Regions from separate parts of the Homo sapiens genome. Here regions 2 and 3 are each linked to region 1. Evidence: promoter capture Hi-C in human tissues and cell types (Jung and others, 2019). All regions are on one chromosome and are shown on one strand. The core of a region is centred on a gene start or on the middle of the fragment in contact, and the rest is flanking DNA. Distances in the headings are between cores, read along the strand shown.

Evidence for each region. Contacts are between HindIII fragments. The study calls those that stand out against the background at their distance.
Region 2: a fragment that was not itself captured here is called in contact with the fragment with the promoter of RUSC2 in region 1 in 5 of the 25 tissues and cell types used here (IMR-90 fibroblasts, aorta, dorsolateral prefrontal cortex and 2 more).
Region 3: a contact is called between a fragment that was not itself captured here and the fragment with the promoter of RUSC2 in region 1, in 1 of the 25 tissues and cell types used here (spleen).

Annotation. Positions count from the first base shown.
Region 1 is chr9:35,488,482-35,492,076 of GRCh38, reverse strand. RUSC2 (RUN and SH3 domain containing 2) reads right to left here and starts at 1,966. Exons shown (of 12, transcript NM_014806.5): 1 at 1,905-1,966. LOC105376026 (a long non-coding RNA gene) reads left to right here and starts at 450. Exons shown (of 2, transcript XR_929580.4): 1 at 450-646; 2 at 821-958. RefSeq lists a silencer at 1,998-2,297. The HindIII fragment of the contact is 10,278 bases long and covers 1-3,595 here.
Region 2 is chr9:35,140,844-35,144,021 of GRCh38, reverse strand. No RefSeq gene overlaps it. Among named protein-coding and RNA genes, the nearest start is that of UNC13B, 20 kb to the left of the region's middle. The HindIII fragment of the contact is 3,957 bases long and covers 1-3,178 here.
Region 3 is chr9:35,894,024-35,897,133 of GRCh38, reverse strand. No RefSeq gene overlaps it. Among named protein-coding and RNA genes, the nearest start is that of HRCT1, 11 kb to the left of the region's middle. RefSeq lists an enhancer at 1,245-1,744. The HindIII fragment of the contact is 7,635 bases long and covers 1-3,110 here.

The sequences.
Region 1 (3,595 bases), core at 717-3,216:
AAGGCCATTAAAAAGATACTGTTAAAAAAAAATTGTATTGCTTAATCCATCCAGATCAGGAGCCCCTCCCCACACTGGGTTTCTATGATCCAAGGCTTTATTTTGAGACAGAGCATTGCTCTGTCACCCAGGCTGGAGTGCAGTGGCATGATCTCAGCTCACTGCAACATCTGCCTCCCAGGTTCAAGGGGTTCTCCTGCCTCAGCCTCCTGAGTTGCTGGGACTTCAGCCTCCTGAGTTGCTGGGACTACATGTGCACACCACCATGCCCGGTAATTTTTGTATTTTTAGTAGAGATGGGGTTTCACCATGTTGGCCAGGCTGATCTTGAACTTCTGACCTCTAGTGATCCGCCCACCTGGGCCTCCCAAAGTGCCGGGATTACAGGCTGAGCCACTGTGCCTGGCCTGATCCAAGACTTTATAAAGACATGTAAGAGGGTGGGAGACAGAAAGCGGAAAAGGATACATCAAAACTAGCAATGGATGAATGAGAACATGTCCAGCCTCCAGTTAAGGCAACTGTGGCTTCAAAAAGGAATCTTAAATACCAGCACAGAAATCAGAGGGATCCTAACCTGGCTCAAAACAGAAGAGAAACAGTGGCTGGCCATACAGCAGGACGGGCATAACTAACAGAATACCAGGTATACTGTTTGGATCTGCTCTTCCTTCCATTAAGCCATCCACCACTGCTTAATATCTAAGGAGCCGGCTAAGAAAATCCAGTCACTACTTTTATTTGCTAATACTTTGAGCCCCAGTTACAATAATGCCACTACTAATTAGGTAACTACTTTCTACCTTATCAACTCCTACAGCTTTCCAGCCATTGTTTCATCCCTCAGCGATACCACCTGCTTCCGCGTGGAACCCAAACCCCCAGGAAACTAAATCTGCTCAGGTCACCCACCTAGGAATAAATAAAAACAGGTTTCAGGCCCTTTGTCCTTTGTAAATTCCGCCTTTTTTTTTTTTTTAAGGCCTGTGTTCTTTATCACGGACACTGTTCACATAGTGGTAATCCTTGCCTGACTCAGATCTACTTGTTCCTGCGTTTCATTCCTCCGCTGCTCAATTACTTGTTCAAAACGCAAAGGACAACTGGTAGTGAAGACCCTCCACCAGCAACACTACCATGTGCCAGGCACCGTGCTGGGGACCGGGGATACAAAGATGAGTAGTGTACCGTCCTTGCCCCCAGGACAGTTCCCCGTGTCCGCAGGGCCGGCCTGGAGGGCCACAGCCAACTGTGGGCAACAGGATCACCGTGCCCTTCGCGGCAAGTGAGTGCAGTAGTAGGGGACGGTTACTGCCAAGCCAAAGGTTTTCTCCAGGTAAAACTGGATGACAGAGAGACAGAGACTGAAGCAACGCCGGCGCCGGGCGGATAATAAAGGGAGGCAGGGGCTAAAAGGGTGGAGGGAGCAGAGGACCCGGCCGGGAACTGGCAGTAGGGAGGCCCCCGCTGCAGTCGCCGGCCTGGGTGCCGGGCGGCCACGCTTCCCCAAAGCCGTCACAGGGACTTGGGGTACCAAGGTGACTACTGGGCGCGAGTCGTTTTGTGGGGGGAGGGTGTCCCCAAGGGGGCAGTTTGAGGAGACGGTTGGGGATGCATCTGGGGTGGCGCCCAAAGGGACGGTGGGTGCTGGGTGTTTGAAGGTCCGGTGGACGCAGAGCTGAAGGGTCAGGAGAAGGCCAAGGGTCAGAAGGGCTGGGGACGAGGTCTGCCCAGGGGGTCGGGGCGGACGCAGAGGGCGGGTGCAGCCGAGGGGGAAGGGCTGAAGGGAAGGGCAGGCGCTGAAGGCACATAGGTGGGAAGACAGGCCCTCCCCTAAGGGAGACCTTGGAACGCGGGGCAGTGGGTCTGTGGGACCCTGCCCGCCTCCGGAGAGGCGTTCCTACCTCGTTTCTCGCCTCAGCCTCGTCCTTCCGCGCCGGCGGCGGCGGCGGCGGCGGCGTGTCTCGCCCTCCAGGGGTCGCGTTGCAGGCTAGAGGCGCCGGCGGCCCCTCCCTCCGGGCGGGTTGGAAAGGCCGGCCCCTGTCGGCGTGGCGCGATGGTCCGATCTGGGTTGCCCTCAGGCCGCCCCTCCGGGCGGCGCGTTGGTTCGGTCCGCCCGGCCTAAGGTGCTCGCCCCCTCCCCGGCTCCCGCAGCGATGGGCGCAGCCGAGTCACGCGCAGAGCTTTCCCGCTAAGGGAGCGGAGAGGCTTCCGCCGTGGCCCAATCTTCTGCGGCCCGCGCCCGCCCCCGCGGGGTGGTGCCTGGCGACGCGCGGCTCCCGGGTGCTGGAACCCAGGGAAACCTTCCGCGGGCCTCCAGGGCCGGTGGGTGTGAGTCCCAGCTTCGCCTGAGGCGGCGGTTCTCAACGCTGGCTTCCCAGTAGAACCTAGTGTGGAAACTAACCAAACAACAGAAGGAGGGCTGACCTCACACTGGACCGACTCAGAACCACTGGGGTGGAGTGGGGTGGGGTGAGGTGGGGTTGGCCTCCAGTGCATAGCCAGGGTTCGGAACCCCTGATGAAACGTAGAACCCATGCGCCCCCTGCCCTTCAGGGCCGGATGTGTGGGGGACATGGAAGATGCCTGTGTGTGACTCCTGCTGTTTACAGCCAGAGGGGGATGGGGCAGGCAGTCCTGCAAATGTTATGGGAAACCCACTGTATTAGTCCGTTCTGACACTGCTATGAAGAAATACTATGAAGGAAAGAGGTCTGACTCACAGTTCCGCATTGTTGGCGAGGCCTCAGGAAGCTTATAATCATGGCAAAAGGCAAAGAAGTAGCCATCCTTTTCGCAGGGTGGCAGGACAGAGTGAGTGCAGGCAAGGGAAATGCCAGACGCTTATAAAATCATCAGATCTTGTGGGACTCACTCACTGTCACGAGAAGGGCGCAGGGGAAACCAGCCCCATCATCCAATTACCTCCACCTGTTCCCGCCCTTGACACAGGGGGATTATGGGAATTACAATTCAAGATGAGATTTTGGGTGGGGACACAGCCAAACTGTTACAGGTAGTTAGGCATGAGCGGGGCAGGAGAGGGTTCTCCCCTGCTACCCACTAGGGATGTTGGGTGATGGTTCTGAGGCAGGAGAATAGGGACTGGAGGCAGGGAACCTAAGACTGGTTCATGCCAACTTCCTGGAACTAAATTGAAAGGAAAACCCTAACTTTCCACACCTAAGTAACAAACCCCCCACCCAACTTTTCTGCCCAGCAGATGGGAAATTGGCTATCTGCAACCAATTAGACTGACTGCAGCCGAGTCTAACTTTGCATAGAAGTATAACTTTGTAACTTCACCCTAGCCTCTGATTGGTTGCTTCTTGCAACCAATCAGATGTTTGCACAGGTGTGCGACCTTTGTAACTTCACTTCAGCCTCTGCTTGGCTGCTTTCTGCAACCAATCAGACTGATTGCAGGCTACGAATTCATTTACATGAGGTGAGCATGAAGTGGCGGGTAACTTCTAGGGGGTATTTGGACCCAAGAAGATTCTGTTTCCTGGCCCTTGAGCCGCTGCTCCGGCTGCTCCCACACTGTGGAGTGTGCTTTCGTTTTCAATACATCCCTGCTTTCCTTCTTTTGTTC
Region 2 (3,178 bases), core at 235-2,734, 350 kb after region 1:
ACCTCAGGTGATTCACTCACCTCAGCCTCCCAAAGTGTTGGGATTATAGGCATGAGCCACTGTACCAAGCCTAAGCACTATTTTTCTTTTTTCTTTTTCTTTTCTTTTTTTTTTTTTTTGAGATGGAGTCTCACTTTGTCACCCAAGCTGGAGTGCAGTGGCATGATCTTGGCTCACTGCAACCTCTGCCTCCTGGGTTCAAGTGATTCTCATGCCTCAGCCTCCCGTGTAGCTGGGACTACAGGTGCGAGCCACCATACCCGGCTAATTTTTTGTATTTTTAGTAGAGACAGGGTTTCACCACATTGGCCAGGCTGGTCTCAAACTCCTGACCTCAAGTGATCTGCCCGCCTCAGCCTCCCAAAGTGCTGGGATTACAGGCATGAACCATCGTGCCCAACAGTGCTATTTTTCTTTAAGCCAATCAGTTAGAGCTCTTTTATGTAAACATCACACATGACATATATATATCTACACAAACGGAGATCCAGTAGTTGTAAGATTTTTCATGTGCCAATCTGTTTTGTTTTGTTTTGTTTTGTTTTTTTGAGATGGAGTCTCGCTCTGTCACCCAGGTCGGAGTGCAGTGGCATGATCTCAGCTCACTGCAAGCTCCGCCTCCCAGGTTCACGCCATTCTTCTGCATCAGCCTCCCTAGTAGCTGGGACTACAGGCACCCACCACCATGCCCGGCTAATTTTTTTGTATTTTTAGTAGAGACGGGGTTTCACCATGTTAGCCAGGATGGTCTTGATCTCCTGACCTCATGATCCACCCACCACGGCCTCCAAAAGTGCTGGGATTACAGGCGTAAGCCACCGCGGCCGGCCTCATGTGCCAATCTCTTAATTGCATTGCTGGCCCTGGGGTGGAGCCCTTCAAGAACCAGGGCCAGGAAAACATAGTTTCTGTGGTCTAATAAGTAGGCATAGCTGGAAGATTAAAAAAAAAAATTGAGAGGGATCCATCCACCTCTAATCTCTGAGGCTCTATCAGGAAAACAGAGGTTTTTCCCAAAAACAGGTCAGTGGCACCTCCTCCATTTTCCCAAGGAGTCCTAGGCCATCTGAGGTTAAGTTGGGGCCCCTCATGTTGCACATAAAGAGTGGCAAGACACAAATGGAGAATTCAGTTGACTGAGAAGAAAAAACCTTTTCCCAAAAACAAGATCCACGAAGGGAAAAGACATAAAGGCCTTTTACATATACCTATAGCTTGGATATCCATGGACATCTACTTTTAATTAAGCTGACTTTTAATTAAGCTGACTTAACTAACACTCCTTTCTTAAGAAGTCCTAAGTCTCTTATTACCCAACTTCAGCCATGCCACAAAGGCCAACACTTCTGGCTTTTGAACTCATGGAGGGGTAGAGAATATAGTGATTTTTATCATTCCTGCAACCAGTTTGCCCACAGAGAAGCCAGAAGTCCAACTGGTAAGAATTTTTACCCTTTTGCTGGCATTCAGACTTCTGGGTTCCCTTCCCCCAAGCCATGGAGCCCTACTGACTCTAAAGTCCTGTTCAGTGATTTAGGATGTGCCCACGGAGTGCAGGCTGAAAATGATTGGTTGGTTACCCATCTGGAAAGAGGGGAAAAAGGCATCCTTTGTTCCTCTCTCTTCCCAGTGAATACCCGGGGTACGTGACACAGAGCAGAAAAGGCATTCCTCTTTCTTTTTTCAAGCTTATATACCTGAGTCCTGGCAACCTGTTCAAGTCCCAACCATGGGTGCAAGTGTGACCTTCATCCATGAAGTGGGAGGCATAGCCAACAGGAATATTCACACTCACCTGAGCAGAGCCTAAGCCTTCCACTGTCAGTAACCTTTGAGTTCCCTGGACCTTATCTATGCCATGGATGCGAGCATGACCTCCATCCATGAAACGGGAGGACCTAATTAGCGGGAATTAGTCATACTCACCTGCACTGTGCCCCTCAACTCCCACTGTCATCTACCTCAGGTCTAGTATTCCATTCCAGGGTTTCAAACTGAAGCTTGGGACAAAAAGGTGCCAAAAAAGGAGGGTGGATGAATCCTTTAAATTAGTCCCAGATGGTCCTCACCAAATTGCAGCTAGCAACTGCCAGGAGCTGCTCCTCTGTTGCCTGCCTATCAACAGCAGGTGAAGCTGTGGGGCCAGGTCCTCCTGAAACAAGGGAGATAAAGGGAGTCCCAGGAATTGGGGACCTAGCCTAAGAAGGCGACAATTAAGAGGCTGGGCTTTTCCTGAGATGACCCTCACAGTCATGCTAACAGAGGAGGGGGTCTATATTGGAGAAGGGGCCTAGATTGGAGAAGAGACCTGAATGGCCCACTCAAGTCCAGGAGGAAGCCCATCCTCCTTCTCTCGATCCCCTAAATCACCCGAGGCTCCAGGATGGCAATAGCAGTCTGAATCACCAAAGTCAGGGAAAGGAACCCTGGGACCCATCAGCCCTACTGTACCATTTGGGAGACCGGCCCTGGACCTGGCAGCCCATGTCTCAGGGACAGCTAGCCCTCCAATGGTTTGCATTTACAGCAGCCAACAGGTACAGCTTAGGAATTCTGAGGTTTGTGCAAGGTGGCTATTAGAGCCTTTGCCTTTTTCTTGTGTCTCCTTGCTCTCGGGCTTCCTGATCTCTGTTGTAAAAGACCAAGGTGGCCACTTTCAGGAGGTCCTCTAAAGTATTACCCGGTCTTATGGACTTTTCTGCAGTTTCCTCCTGATATCAGGGGCTGACTAAGTAATAAACTCATCCCCTAGGACCAGCTGTCACCCTATTGAATCAAGAGATAGGTGTGTTTTACCAAGACCCCTCTTAGCCTTTCTAGGGAGGCAGTGGGACTCCCACCCAATTCTTGATCTACCATGGATAGTCCACTGCAATTGAAAGGCCTAGGCCCATTCCCAGGCAAGCCCACAAGTATGCACGCCTGAAAGAGTTTCTTCCTCCATTCTCCCATTTCATCATTGGGGTCCCATTTAGGGTCCTCCAATGTTAGTGCTATTCTTCCAACTAGATAAGGCTCCTCCCCTTCCCTGGCCCTATGCAAGATGTAAAGCTCATTCCCAAAATTTTTTGCCACTTGCCAAGAATGGCCTGCTTTGCAGCATTGGTCAGGGTTTGATTGAAAAGTAACATGGTGATCCTTCCAGGAGAGCTCAAATACTTGGGTTAAGCTCTGGAAG
Region 3 (3,110 bases), core at 222-2,721, 410 kb before region 1:
AGGCTAAGGCAGGCAGATCATTTGACTCCAGGAGTTCAAGACCACCCTGGCCAACATGGTGAAATCCCATCTCTAAATAATAATAATAATAATAATAATAATAATAATAAATTTAGATTCTAAAATTTAAAAATAAAAATACAAAATCGGTGATTTTCCTACATAACAGTAATTACTAATTCAAAGACAGAATGAAGGCATTATTGAAACTTAAAACAAAAATTATAAAACTTCTAAGAACAAACAAGAATAAACTTAACAAGAGATGTGGAAGACCAATGAACAAAAGAAAAAGCAAGTCTTCACTGACAGCTGTGAAAGAAGACCTGACTAACCGAAGCACCACACCATGTGTCTGAAAGGGAGGAGCCCGCATTATAGTCCAGGCTGCACTTCAGGGGATATGGATCCTGTGAGACTTGCAAACAACCTGCCACAAGCATCTGTTAAATAAATTCTTATATGCTATAGAGGTAATATTTTTGAAAAGTAGTAATATACTTTTTTTGAGATAGGATCTTGCTCTGTTGCCCAGGCTAGAGTGCAGTGGCATGATCAGAGCTCACTGCAGCCTCTACCTCCTCCCAAACAATCCTCCCGCCTCAGCCTCCCAAGTAGCTGGGACTCCAGGTGTGTGCCACCACGTCTGGCTAACTTTTTTATTCTTTGTAGAGACGTGGTCTCGCTATGTTGCCTAGACTGATAACCTGCTCTTTAAAGTTACTTTTCCAAATATGTAAGTTTCTTCCTAGTTGTTCCAGAGCATTTGTCTGGAGAGAGAGTTGAATTATTACAAAAAGAATGCAAGGAGAAGGACTTTAATATGCATGCAGTCTTTGACCTTCAAAATTGGACTTTGCCCTGTAAGTCAAGCCAGTTTCCTAAGAGGATTTTCCAAATTCTTTTTTCTCTCCCTTTCAACACACTGAATCAAGGACCAAACGAGGACCCAGCCCATGCAGATCTCCTATAACGTAGAAAGCTCCTCCATTCCACATGCGACAGCCATGTAGCCGAAGTTTGAAGCTCTAAGGTAGATGGAGGCCATGATATCCAGGCCTGGGAGAAGCCTGGTTCCTTCTGGCCCCAAAGGATGATGGGAAGGAGAGAGAAGAAAGGCATGAAGTGCAAAATGTGTGCAGCAGCTGCTAGGGAGCTTCAAAAACAAATGGGGAAGGCTACAGGAAGACAGGGCTAGAGGTGAATACACTGAGGCACTGATGTTATTTGGATGGGGAGTGTGGTCTGCAAAATCTAGGAATTCATGAAAATGTGACCTCATTTGTACATGCAGGGTGGTTAGTGCTGGCAATGTTTGTGTTACACCTATAAACACGCACAGACAGAAGTCTGAAGAGCTACAAGATGCAATCTTTATAGGGCTTCCTCTGAGCAGTGAGTTTGCAGGTGACTGCTTTTTATTTGGCATTTCTACATTTCTAAAACTTGCAACAATAAACATTTTACTTGTATAATAATGAAAGCAACAAAAGTTACAGCACCTTTAGAAAAATATTCAGAAGCATGCCCACCAAGTAGAACAGGTCTGCAAAGTGATCCACCTATTCACCAACGAAGAGAGCAGCTAGACCCCAGAATCATAAGCTTCATTGGTGTCATTTTAAAGATGCCAGCCAGGCGCGGTGGCTCATGCCTGCAATCCTAGCACTTTCGCAGGCCAAGGGCGGCGGATTGCCTGAGCTCAGGAGTTCGCAACCAGCCTGGGCGACACAATGAAACCCCATCTCTACTAAAATACAAAAAAATTAGCCAGGTGTGGCGGCGTGCGCCTGTAGTCTCAGCTACTCAGGAGGCCAAGGCAGGAGAATCGCTTGAACCCGGGAGGCAGAGGTTGCAGTGAGCCGAGATCGCGCCACTGTGCTCCAGCCTGGGTGACAGAGCGAGACTCTGTCTCAAAAAAAAAAAAAAAAGATGCCAACAGGTGGAAGAGGTCTCCTAGATTCACTGTCCTTGGGGATGTGTGGGAGCTGATTAATCCAAGGGGACTGCTTCTCCTGCCTTCCCTGGGCAGCATGTCCATGGGCTTTGAGACATGTATATGCAGTAAACATAGTGAACTTTCTTGAGCCTAAGTTTGCCCTCATGCACAACGAGGGAAGAACTGGAGACAGATTGAATCTGTGCAGTCTAAGATTTATTGCTCTCTGGATTTTCAAGTCTCTGTAATTTTCTGAAATCATTATCTAAAGATAATTGTGACACTTAGAATTATATTCATTGATATAACTAACATCTGTTGAACTAGACTCTGTGCCTGGTGCTGAGGCTGGGTAGAAAAAAGACAATCCATGCCTTCCAAGAGCTTTTTACCTAGGACAGGAGACAGAAATATAAATTATTACAACACACTGGGTAAATTCTGGGACCTAAATATTCACAAGGAAAGCACAAAAGGAGTCATTCATAAGCAATAATCTCCTTTCCTTTTCCTCCCCAACTATTTTAATAATTGCTAGAATAATTACACTTTACAAATGTATCTTTAGATCTCACAACAAACCTATTGTCCTCACATTACATAGGAGGCTTAGAGAGTTAAAGCTCTCACTGTTGCCCGGCATGGTGGCTCACCCCTGTAATCCCAGCACTTTGGGAGGCCAAGGTGGGTGGATCACCTAAGATCAGGAATTCGAGACCAGCCTGACCAACATGGTGAAACCCCATATCTACTAAAAATACAAAAAAATAGCTGGGTGTGTAATCCCAACTACTCAGGAGGCTGAGGCAGGAGAATCGCTTGAACCTGGGAGCAGAGGTTGCAGTGAGCCGAGATCGTGACACTGCACTCCAGCCTGGAGGATACAGTGAGACTCTGTCCCCCAAAATAACAAATAAATAAATAAAGCACCCATTCTGGGTCACGCAGTAGTAAATGACAGAGCCAGAATCAAGTGCAGACCTGTCTGACCCCAAAGCCTACCTCTAACCCAGAACAATATTGTGCTAGGCTGAGAGATGTAACCGAGTATGATGCTTCACTCAGAAAGCTTGCTCTCTGATGGGAAAGAGAAGTCATGTCTCCGAGAATCCACAGGAGAGGAAAATCAGGACACAGGCATAAGAGGATAATAAAGAGGAAAAGGAGAGAA